3 separate regions of the Homo sapiens genome follow, and regions 1 and 3 are each linked to region 2. The links are contacts of gene promoters, found by promoter capture Hi-C in human tissues and cell types (Jung and others, 2019). All regions are on one chromosome and are shown on one strand. The core of a region is centred on a gene start or on the middle of the fragment in contact, and the rest is flanking DNA. Distances in the headings are between cores, read along the strand shown. Region 1 has its middle 61 kb from the start of PTPRR. Region 2 holds the start of PTPRR (protein tyrosine phosphatase receptor type R). Region 3 overlaps PTPRR (protein tyrosine phosphatase receptor type R).

Region 1 (3,965 bases), core at 430-2,929, 61 kb before region 2:
GGTAATACTATGGCACTTGCTACGTAATGCCATTAAAAGCTCTCCAGGCCACAGAAGCTCTAAACATTACTGTTAATCACTTAACAACTGACATCATGTGCATTCCAACGGCACTGGTTGACTTCCTTTTATAATTATCAGAGGATACATGGGAAATGCTGAAGTTTGAGAAAGACTTGTATTTCAAGCTCCAAATCCTCTACCCCAAGCTGAGATGAGCAGTTAATTTTGGTAAGCCTTTGGGGAAATCAACAGCTCTGGAAGTTTTGATATTGACATTATCATTCCCTTACGATGAGGGAGTTTGACTAATGGCTTATCCAAGACTGGAAATTGGAGAAGAAAAACGTAAAGGCAAGATTCTCTCCAGTCGCCACTCTCATCCTCAATCCCCAGGCCAAGATGCAATGTTTACGCAATTATCTTCTTATGAGAAAGATAAAATCTGATGAAAATACAATTTTAAGCAAGTGCTAGGCCTGCCTTTTCTTCTTAACCTAATTTGTAATTGTTCACAATTATTTTCTAAAAGCTTCATGCAATTCAACATTCAATTTAAAAAGCAACATCTAATAAGCCATTAAGCCAGGTTATATGATTTTAAGACAGCACAAATTTACTTGCTGGGGATTAGGTATCTATGCAGAGAGGCTTGTTCATTCTCAGGCATCTCCCAAATTATAATTCTACCATTATTATTTTCCAAATATTTGGCATTCTGCAGACTGGCTGGGAGGTCTAGTTATTGCTCTTTGTGTCAACTCCTCAGTTTCTCTTATGGCCAAATGCAGATAAAACTCCCACGCAGTCTAACATCATTGCAGTGACTCATAACTAGCAATTCTTGTTTTAAAGCACTTACCAATTAGAAGGATTTTATACAAATTACAGTTTATTTTAGAAAAGAAATAAGCTAGCATATGGAAAATATTGGATACGATGGTAAAATATGTACCATACCACCTGCTTTGTCTAAAAATCTCTCAAATAAAGAAATGCAAATTTAAAGTGATTATTCCCTAAAACTAAACACATAAAAAGACTTGATTAGCTATTTGTCTATCTATTAGAAAGTAATCACCTCTTAATGCTTGCAAAAATAAACAAGAAAAACCTGCTTATACTATGTCACAGACATACAGGCTCAGAGAATAAGGAGAAACTACAAAGCAGGAGAAACAAATCCACTTTCCCTTTTCTCTTCCTCCCGCCCCGCCATGCCCACCCAGGGTGATTGGTTACAGCTGAAATGTATGGGCTGCTTATGCCAAGTCTATGGGCTCAACTGAAGGAGATGATGATGTTCATAATACTTCACATTTGTATAGCATATTATGCCTTCCAAAGGGCTTTCACGTAGACTGTTTCATTTAGAGAAAAGCTTTGCACAGATGTTTTGTGGACTTGCAAGCATTAAAATTGCTAATTCTGATTAAGTTTGTCGAATATTTCAAGTTCTGTTTCACTCTTATTTTATCCTAAATCTGGTTCACAAGGAGATTTTATTATGCTAATATAAAGTGACAGTCATTGTCCCATGATTGAAGCTCTTCCTCAAATGCAATCATAGAGAGTTTGAGTTAGAAAGAACTTTGGAGGAATTGTATCCTAACCATTTGATTTTGTAGATGTAATACCAAGGTTTAGAGAGACTTCATGATCTGCTCAGGGCCAGGCTTGGGTTTCTGCCTTGCAATGTGGAAGGTTTGCTGTTATCCCCTAAAGAGTGCCCTCCTGACTCTTGTCTATGTGGGGGAGAATAAAAACTTCAGGGAGAAAATGATGAAGCAAACCAAGCTCTAAACAGCATAGTGTTTTTGAAACGTTTATTTGTTTTTACCCTTCCAGTGTTTTAGAAATTTTTTTTCTGAAGGAGATTCATTGAATATTTAAAGTAGATACACTCCTTTTATTTTTGTCCAAAATTACCAAATGTCTTTTTCATTTTTTTCATTAAACCAAAGATCTTTAGATTCCTAATCAAATGCTATTTTCACTTTTTTCTCATTAAATTCTTATAAAAAATGTTTTGTTTTTTGTTTTAAAGCAAAGCAAGCATTTAGCCACATTTTAGAGTAAAGAAATCTCATACTCAAAGAAGATACATGAACTGTATAAGGTCACATAGCTGATTAGTGAAATTCATAAGAATAGAAACCACTTTGTATGATTTTAAGTACAGTTTTTGTTTTGTGTTTTGTTTTTTACAACTCATTACTCCTGGCCCTGAAATAGAGTTGAAGATCATCAGATTTTCCTCAAGTTATATTTTTGACATCTTCCTAAATGGCTTGTATAAGGTAATCAATATATGCATTAAATTTGATTCAAACTGAAGTTTGTAATACACATACTTATTTGTAAAAATGCCTGACTGTAACATTATGAGTTTATTTTTAATATTATTCCTTATTTCTAGAATTTCTAAAGTGAGGTTGGGTGCAAGAATTTTGTATAACATGAATGTATTAAATTCTAAACCAAAGATTTTACGTTTATATTAGATATGGAGTCACAAGGTTGTAAAAGACCCTAACTGGAAAGCGAGTTTCTAGCATTTAGTATGTGTGTATCATATGCCATATCTTATTTCCTCAGTGTAAATAACCATAGCAAACCTGAGCGTTCCCTAATCTTATCTCCTTTTTTAACAATAAGGAAACTGAGGCTCAGAAAACTGAAATAACTTGCCCAGAGTCCCATCTCTACATGATTCTGAAGTTCATGCTCTCTTGGGAGTATTTCTGATCTTTCTCAAAAAGCATACCTGAACTACAAAGAAGCACATCTCAATACATATAGAGAACTATTTCACTCAATTCTGAGAAAAAAAAACACTTGCTTTTGGCTGGATAGACCTGTAAAGATGTCTCTTTAGTTACATTCCTACTCATTTTGTGCCAACAAAATACAACATATTCCAGAATACATGGCTAATATTACATAGTGGTCTCTTTCAGACTAATAGGATTCATCTTATTTTTAATTGAGTTATAAAAAGCATCCTTTTCCTAATGGTTAATTTGTCTTTATTAAATTATATTATTAAGTATGAGTTAATAAGAACAAATTAACCATTATTATATAAGCATATATGCTTATGTATTAGCATATTTATTAATAAGTTAATTTCTTAAAGAAATAAAACTTGCATTTTGTGCTGAGTTTATTGTCATTTACATCATGACATAGAAGTTCACTGCTCAAAAAAATCAGTGAAGATTATGACAAATAGCTGAAGATATACATTATCAGACACAATTATATTTGTTATGCATCTCTAAGTTTAACCTCTGAAGGTTAGCACTGTTATTGCCTGTATGTGCTTTCATAAACATATAATGTACATTATTTTCTTTTAAAAATGTGTGTAAACATTTTGGCACATGTATAATACAGCATATGCACAGAAAAATACATTTAAATGTACAGAATACTTGATTATTATGAAGTGAGCTTTAGTACAATGACTAAATGAGATTAGACATAAATACTGACAGCATCCCTGAAGCCCCATCCCTATGTATTCATTGCCTATTCTTTTGAGGATTTCTTCTTTCACTTGATATTATATTGGTTAATTCCACCTCTGTTATTATATATTGCTCCAATTTCACATTTTTATTGCTTTATTTTATTCATTTGTTTGAAATCTTACCATGTTTATTTATCCACTCCACTGTTGATGGCTATTTGGATTATTTCTAGTTTGTTGCTATTACAAGTCAATGCTGTATAAATATTCTTGTACATTCTTCTGACACACATATAATTACATTTCTCTAGAGTATATGCCCAGGAGTAGAATTTCTGGGCTGTGGGATATGTGTATGTTTCAATTTAATAGGTGATGTTCCCAGTTTTTTAAAAACAGTTTTATCAATTTATATATCTGCCAATCATAAATGATAATTCCTTTTACTCCATAGTTTTTAAAATGCTTGGTACTTGTTATTCTCTCAGAC
Region 2 (3,846 bases), core at 77-2,576:
GATAGCCTATTTCCCATTAGTTGTCTCAATTCACAGAGGATGGAGAAAGAAAGCACTGAATGAGATGTGCAGCTCAACTCAATGGGCACTTGTTAGCCCCAATTATTTGGCTAGGACAACTTTATTCAAGTTAATGGAATACAAAACTCAGCAGTTCTTATGGAGACTTCAATGTGCTGTAGAACAAACCACAGATAAATGAACTGTCTGAAAGAATAATATGAGGCACGGCTAAACAAGTGTTGTGGAAGAGAAAGATCACTGTAATCTAGAGTTAGTTAGAGTTAGGGCTTTCTGGAAAAGTGAGACCAACATTACACCTTCGAAAACTAGTGTGGTGGTGGTGCAAGTGGAGGAAAATGGGAAAGAGGCAACAGTGTCCATAAAGACACAGAGGCAGAAAGGGCAGAGGCCCTGGGATAGTTAAAAGAGAAGTCTAGCTGAGGGACTTCTTGACTTGACTAGCAGCAATTAGCCATGACTAATAAGGCTTTCCACACTCCAAAGACTTAGATGGAGGGATAAAAAACCATCTAATGGCAGACTGTGGTAGCCTCCCTAGAGACACAGAGCTGGGCCGGATGAGTCCAGGCACTGACGTGATCCATTATCTTTCACCTTAAAGAGTAAAAGGGAAACTAAAGTTAATTACCTCCACGAAACAAAAAGGTGCCTTCTTGTGCTTCAATTACATGGATATATTCTACTAGTCTAAAAGTATCTTCTCACTTCTTTCTGTCACTGTGAGGACTTGAGTCAGAAGAAAGTTTAAATACAGTCATTGAGCTGGAAAGAGTGGAAAGAGAAGCAAAGAGGGGGAAGCTGTAGGAAGGACGAAGTCACCCCCAAGATACATGGTTACTGCTTACACCAAGCAAGCTGCCTTGGGAACGCTTCCCCCGAGCAGCCAGAATGCTCAGCAGTGGAAGACACCTCTATTCCTGTAGGCGAGTCCTGGGAAGCTGGTCAATCTGCAAATGCCAATTCCCAGCAGTGAGCTCGGTCCACGTGTAAATCAAGATTTGGGGAAAGAGTAGGGTGGGTGGCATGGTTGACAATGTCATCAGCTCCCTCCTCTGACTCCTGTGGTCGTGCCCCCATCTACTCTCACTCAGCTACACCCCACCTTCGGATTTGTGATGGACGCTGGGTCCCTAGTAACCACAGCAAGTGTCTCCCCCGCACTTCCCCCTTCCCCACCCCCACCCCCACCCCCAACCACCACCCCAGCGATGGAGCCTACTCTGCTCCAAGCCGCCGCTAAGACCCGGAGAAGCGGAATTTCACTTTGAAATTCCCTTGCCTCGTGAGGGCCGGCGCTGGGCATGCTCAGTAGCCGCGGCGCTGCTGCTGGGCTGCTGGGCTGGCGCGGAGTCCACCCTGCCGTCTCCGCCTTGGCTTCTGGGCGTCCAGAAGGCCAGGCATTTGCCGCCTCTGAGCGCTTCTGTTCCCCTTACCCGCAACCTCCTACTGCTCTTCCTCTCTCCCTCTCTTAGGGAGGTTGAAGCTGGTGCTGGTTTCTGTCGGCGCCACAGACTGACTGCTCTGCAAACCCCAGCCGAGGACCTGAATCCCGGAGACTAGAAGACCCTTGGCGGTGGCTCTTTCTAATAGCACTTTACCTGAAGTGGGGTCGTGGTGGAGTTTCTCCTCCACCTCTCAATGCAAACACTATGCGGAGAGCAGTCTGCTTCCCTGCGCTGTGCCTGCTCCTTAATCTTCACGCTGCAGGTAAGGGGTTGCCAGGCTTAGAGCCGGAGCTGTGCATGAGATGGGAAACTGCACATGCTTAAGGACTCTAGGAAAAGCTTGCCTTGCGAAGAAAGCCTTTCTAAAAAGGTAAAACAGGACAGTACCTGACAGGGAAGGGGTGAGGGAGTCGTGCACCTGTTGGAAAACTGAGGCCGAAAACTTAACCTAAAATTAGCTCTTGATTTTTCTTTACTTTATACGAAAATAGTGAACATTTTCAATATGAATACAGGTTTGCTCCCCCCTTCGCCTCCCCTCCGTCTAGATTCCCTGCTCTTGTTTCTAGGCTATGCACTTAACTGTCAATTTTTCAGGAGAGGGATAAGACATCCTGCTAGATGTAACCTTTTCTACTGCAGCGGCTACTACATTCATAAGGTCTCTTGGTCTAGCGAGCGCTCATAGGAAGGCATTGGCTGTAACCTGATGGACCACATCTCCGCCCAAAAGATCGAAATACATGGTTCACATTAGTGATGCTGCACCAGGCTCCTTTGGCCCCTGCTCTTGTCACTCGAATTTTCTAAGCCAATAAGAGGAAGAAAAGGTTTCAAATAGAATCCTCTTGTCTCTTTCAGCACCGTGGCTAGCGTCCGCTGGCATATTAAAAAAAAAAAAAAAAAAAAAAAAAAAAAAAACAATTACAGTTCCAAAGCTGACAACCCTGGGTTAGGCACTGTCCCTCGGACAGATTTGATAAGGTGTAACCAAGAGTAACAGTGAGACTGCTCCCAAATATAAATAGATTTGAGGCACCAGAATCAATATCAAGTCTCGTGAGGAAGCAAACCTTGGGAAGTACCTGAGAGATATTATATGTGGTGTCCCTGCTTTTTGCATACATAGCACCTCTATTTAATGCAGACAGACTTGCTAGGCTGAATTCCTTATCATTGTCACACACACATGAACCAAAATAAAATATGGCAGGGAGATTTTAGAAACCCTACTGTGACAGCAGTTGTCCATGCAGTAGTCCTGTAACAACCAGAGACGAGGCATTTTCCCTGAGTGTGCTTCTCATCCAATCACACATATCCATTCATTCCTTCAAGCAACATTTGCTGAGTGTATACTATGTTCTAGGGGTAATGAGTAAAAATAATTGTTCTGAAATTACAATCCTTGCAGTATCTTTTTTAAAAGAGTGGGTGAATTTTATTCTCTGTGTACAATAGTAGGAGTGAAATATGGTACTTTCTTATTCCAGCTAACGCTATTATTTAAATGTATCATGAATCTTTTGAGCAAATAATGCATAGGATTATTAAAGCTATTATTAAATACACATGTTAATTGTTATAATTATGATGTTATATTGTGGAGTTTTCAATAGTTCTTTGGCACATTTTGAGAAGTAGAAAATAGCTATGACTTGATTATTAAATTATTTGCAAACAGCTGTAGTGAATTATTTCGTTACCACATACAATTCTTCAATGCTGAAATGTGGGATGAAAACATACACATTGGGTTGAGTTTTATTTATAGTATTGCTTAATAATAGACTGACACAAACATTCATTACAGAAAAATCTCAATTCTTACTAAGGTAGCAATGATTTAGCTGGTCTGCCAACAATATCAGTGTAGTCATTTTTTCAAAACTAACATATAAAAAAGTTTAAAGATCACATTTGATACATCTTGAGTAATTATATCTTAAAAGTTATAAATAAACTGAAGCATGTGAAAAACATGTCTTGATTTACTGTAGATGAATATTCGGGATGAGAAAAATGAGGACTTTTGCTCATCAGATGAGAAACCTAGAAGCCTGTAGCCCTAGATTTTACCTGGAGTTCTGCCAAAGGGTATATTACCAAAGCCAATCCAATCCATCTCTACTTCAACTTTTTAATTTGCAAAACAAAGATAAAAAGTAAGATTAATCAACCAATTTTAATTTAATAAGAAAATGCATTTAAGGACATTTTTATATTTCAATTGCAAGATACTATTCATTGTATTCATATTTAATATAGTAAAATACATTGGTGTTTTATCACAGCAGATTGTAAGTTTAATATTATAGTTCTCTTGCCAATTTCATTTTAAATGCATTTTAATTTTAAACAGCAATTTGTGGGTCAC
Region 3 (4,308 bases), core at 325-2,824, 36 kb after region 2:
GAAAGCTTTATGCTCAGATTTCCCCAGCTATTACTGTATCCTTGCAAAATAGTCCTGAAGTAGAAATTCCGTTCTTGAGCTTGGCATCCTGACAGTCATAACTGTCACCATCTGTTGCTTTTCACCATTTCTAGCTATTAAAGCAGCAAGGACGATGCTGGAATGCACTCTGGAAAAGCTAGAGGCTAAGCCTCAGCAATGTCTGTGTGAGGTTACAACCCTGGACCACTCAGTGCATCTGCTTGTTTGGGATCATACACATTCACTATTAGGATGACTCAAGTCTTAAGAGAGCTGGTTTAATTGATTGTCATTAGGCCTTGCTCTCCAGGTGCAGTGAATGAGCAGGGAATAACTTAGTAATATTTTTGTTCTAATTCCAAAAATTATGCATTTTCATACAGTTGTAGAATATTTAGAAAGTTTAGATAAGGAAAAGCGGAAATAAAAACCATCCATAACCAGCCAGGCGTGGTGGCTCAGCGTGTAATTCCAACACTTTGGGAGGCCAAGGCTGGTGGATCACGTGGTCAGTAGATCGAGATCATCCTGGCTAACGGTGAAACCCCATCTCTACTAAAAATACAAAAAATTAGCCGGGCATGGTGGTGGGCGCCTATAGTCCCAGCTACTCGGGAGGCTGAGGCAGGAGAATGGCATGAACCCAGGAGGCAGAGCTTGCAGTGAGCTGAGATTGTGCCACTGCACTCCAGCCTGGGCAACAGAGCAAGACTCCGTCTCAAAAAAAAAAAAAAAAAATCCTTAACTGTTAAATAACTAAGGTAATCTTGCTCTCTCTATATATTCTTTTCTATGTACAGGTATGCATGTATTTTTTACAAAAGTATGAAATCTGCATATATGTGCTTTGTAATTTTTTAGTTTTATGTTTACATTATGGATGGCTTTCCAAGTCGTTAAGTATCATTGTACAGCATCACTTTTAACAGCTGCTAAAAATTTCATTGTATAGTAGCTTTCACATTTTATATATTGACTTATATTCCCAATACAGTCACTGATTTAAGGCCACTCATCCTGAGAAGGAGAAATAAATGATGACAATATCTAATATAGTATTATTTTCTAAGCAACTGCCCAATTAATATTACTGAGAGAATTTGGTGAGCTTATCTCAGGGAAAGCTACTTTCTTTATAAATTCTTCATATAATTGTAATATAGGATCTAATTTTTTTCATTTGGGCAAATTATGTACGTTTCAAAGATCTTAGACCTTAAATCTTAAGTAAAGTGAAATATTTAAAATAGCCAAAGGAGTAAACAGAACAAAAAAAGAGAATGTTCTGATTAGAAGATACAAAACATTCTATTTCAGAACTTATCTTTGAGGAAGAAGGACAGTGCTGTTCCTCTTTATGTTGGAGCCTGCAAAACTTTTTTTTTTTTTTTTTTTTTTTTTGAGACAGAGTTTTGCTCTGTTGCCCAGACTGGAGTGCAGTGGCACGATCTCGGCTCACTGCAAGCTCCGCCTCTCAGGTTCACGCCATTCCCTGGCCTCAGCCTCCGGAGTAGCTGGGACTACAGGCGCCCGCCACTACGCCCGGGTAATTTTTTTTTTGTATTTTTTAGTAGAGACGGGGTTTCACCGTGTTAGCCAGGATGGTCTCGATTTACTGACCTCGTGATCCGCCCGCCTCGGCCTTCCAAAGTGCTGGGATTACAGGCGTGAGCCACCGCGCCTGGCAAAAAAATTTTTAATCCAAAATTTCCACAATAATGTCAAAAAGGGGGATCTGCAGATAAACAAAAATAGTATCTTTTCTCTGGAGCAAATATTTACTTGGAGCTTTCAGTTCTCTCTAAAATTGCCTTTGGTTTTCCAGTTGTTAAGAACTGTTCTCCCGTATGCCTTTTGTTAATGACTTTGTCCCCTTTTCTTTCTTTCCTTCTTTGTCTATTTATCTGTAATCATAAGTGCCTGTAAATCATGCTTACTATCTTGTTACTATTCAATAGTTCAGTTAAAAATCTCACTGCTAATGGATGATTATACTGGGCTTTCGGGGCATTTGGCCCTGCTCCTGAGTGATGGGATTGGCACCACTTAGCAAAATGCTTAGGTTTCTCACTGTGATCCCTATGACTCAGGTGGTAGAAGCAACGTGTTTCTTTCTCTTTTTTTAGGAAAAATACAAAAGCTAAAAGTCCCTAGAAGGTTCTCTCCCTGGGCAAAGTTAAGAAGCTTAACTCCCAGTGCTAGTCTACAATTGGAATGTGAGTCTAGAGTTCAGACAGGTCACAGCCAAAGCTTTAGACCTGGGAGATATCCACAGACCCATGCATGGCTGTTAACACTGTTTGAGTGGGTGAGAGAATGCAGACAGAGGGAAACAATAGAATAGAATAAGCTATTACTGTGGCAGAAGTGGAAAGAGGACCAACACAGAGAAGGAACAGATGGAAATGTAGGAGCTTCATTGTATAAATTCTTCTGGCAATCTTGACCACTCAAAAGATTTCAGCCAAATATTAGATTTTCATGACAATCAAAGTCTGCTTCCTAACTAATCCTTTCATTTTTTTTCCTGGGAGGGTATAAGACCCCAGATCTGGCTGTGACATTATTAAGACATGTGAAATAAAACTCAGTATTTTAATAAAGTAACACGGTTTCTACTGACATTTAAAAAAACTCAAAAAATGAAAAGCACGAAGCTTTTCATTTAACTTAGTATAGTCCTTGGCACACAACAGTTCTTAAATACTTGCACCAAAAAGAAAGAAATTATCTGCAGGTTAAAGGAGAGAACTAGGGGGGAATGTGGAGAAATTATCAAAATAAGCCAAGGTCCTAGCTTAAGCTGTGTGAAGATATTGTTATTGTTAAGATATTATGCACACTTAGGTAATCATTCGGCTTACCAGAGAAGTGGTAAGACTGGGGAAAACATTGGAAGTAATTCAAAAATAGCCATAGCATAATACAGTGGCTCAAATCCTTGCTGTTTCCCCTCTAATTTTTATGTGACTTAAGTCTGTGTTTCATTATCTTTTTTATTGTTGTTTTTTGAGATGGAGTTTTGTTCTTGTCACCCAGGCTGGAGTGCAATGGTGAGATCTCAGCTCACTGCAACCTTCACCTTCTGGGTTCAAGCGATTCTCCTGCCTCAGCCTCCCCCGTAGCTGGGTTTACAGGCACCTGCCACCAGGTTCAGCTAATTTTTGTATTTTTAGTAGAAACAGGGTTTCACTATGTTGGCCAGGCTGGTCTTAAACTCCTGCTACCAGCCTCAGACTCCCAAAGTGCTGGGATTACAGGCATGAGTCACTTTGCCCAGCCTTCATTATCTTTTAAATGGGAGGATTAAAATTACCAACTTCATAGAGGTGTATAGATTAAATGATAAAACACATTGAATACTCTTACATGTCACCTAGTGAATAGTGAACACTCAATAAATAGTAACTATAGGAAGAGAAATGTTATTGCTATTTTATAGGCAAAGTATACATCAAAGTAACTCGTTAATATAACTGGGACTCAAACCAGTAGCGGAATAGATGAGGATCTGGAGCTTACAAACACTTGAGGATATGAAGCCTCTTTGGATCAGTGTTGGCAACAAGTAATATAAGCCTAAACATTAGAAAATGTCTGTCAAGGAAGACCAGCAATAGGTTTCAGATGAAGATTTTGGCAAATTAAAAAAAAAATGGGTCTTACTCAATCATCATATTCCCAGTCACTATGGGAGAATAAAGTTTTTATAAATAAATGTAAACACAGAGGCAAACTCTTGCGTCTTGCCGGACTGGCCTCCTTGACTCTTATTTCTTGTTTTTCACTTTTCTCCAAAGTGTTTAGTATGATAAGGGTGGGTCTCCTGGTGATGTTTTAGTCTAGAGTGTTCTTGGTGTTCTATATCCTCTGGGAAGCCAGGGGGTGGGCAGCAGTCACGGTAGTGACTTAGGATACAGATTCTGACCATCACTCCTCCTATCTATCATAGCTAGTGATGGGGTGCAAAGAATCTTGGAATCAGCAATAACAAGTAAAGGAATAGTTCCAAAAGGAAATACCTCCAGGGCTAAGCCAGTGTAAATATTTAATGACAAAGCTTCTAGATTTGGAGATCTCTTCACTTTCTCTTGCGCAGGATTAGATTTCAATTTGCTTCTTGGAGTTTGGAAAGAAAGATGTTGATGTAGGGGATTCAGTGGTCCAGACACAGGATGACAGAATAAAAACCTTTAACCAGGTTGAAGAAGATTGGTAATAGAGTTATCGGTATGAAACTAAACAAGAAATCCAACAGCGTAACGCAAAGGCTGTGTCACAATAGTG

What was found. Contacts are between HindIII fragments. The study calls those that stand out against the background at their distance.
Region 1: a contact is called between a fragment that was not itself captured here and the fragment with the promoter of PTPRR in region 2, in 2 of the 25 tissues and cell types used here (dorsolateral prefrontal cortex and hippocampus).
Region 3: a contact is called between a fragment that was not itself captured here and the fragment with the promoter of PTPRR in region 2, in 2 of the 25 tissues and cell types used here (hippocampus and spleen).

What each region holds. Positions count from the first base shown.
Region 1 is chr12:70,979,297-70,983,261 of GRCh38, reverse strand. No RefSeq gene overlaps it. Among named protein-coding and RNA genes, the nearest start is that of PTPRR, 61 kb to the right of the region's middle. The HindIII fragment of the contact is 3,125 bases long and covers 117-3,241 here.
Region 2 is chr12:70,918,218-70,922,063 of GRCh38, reverse strand. PTPRR (protein tyrosine phosphatase receptor type R) reads left to right here and starts at 1,326. Exons shown (of 14, transcript NM_002849.4): 1 at 1,326-1,731. The coding sequence starts at 1,674. The HindIII fragment of the contact is 3,890 bases long and covers 1-2,874 here.
Region 3 is chr12:70,881,986-70,886,293 of GRCh38, reverse strand. The region is part of intron 2 of PTPRR (protein tyrosine phosphatase receptor type R); the gene reads left to right. Among named protein-coding and RNA genes, the nearest start is that of PTPRR, 37 kb to the left of the region's middle. The HindIII fragment of the contact is 3,613 bases long and covers 1-3,380 here.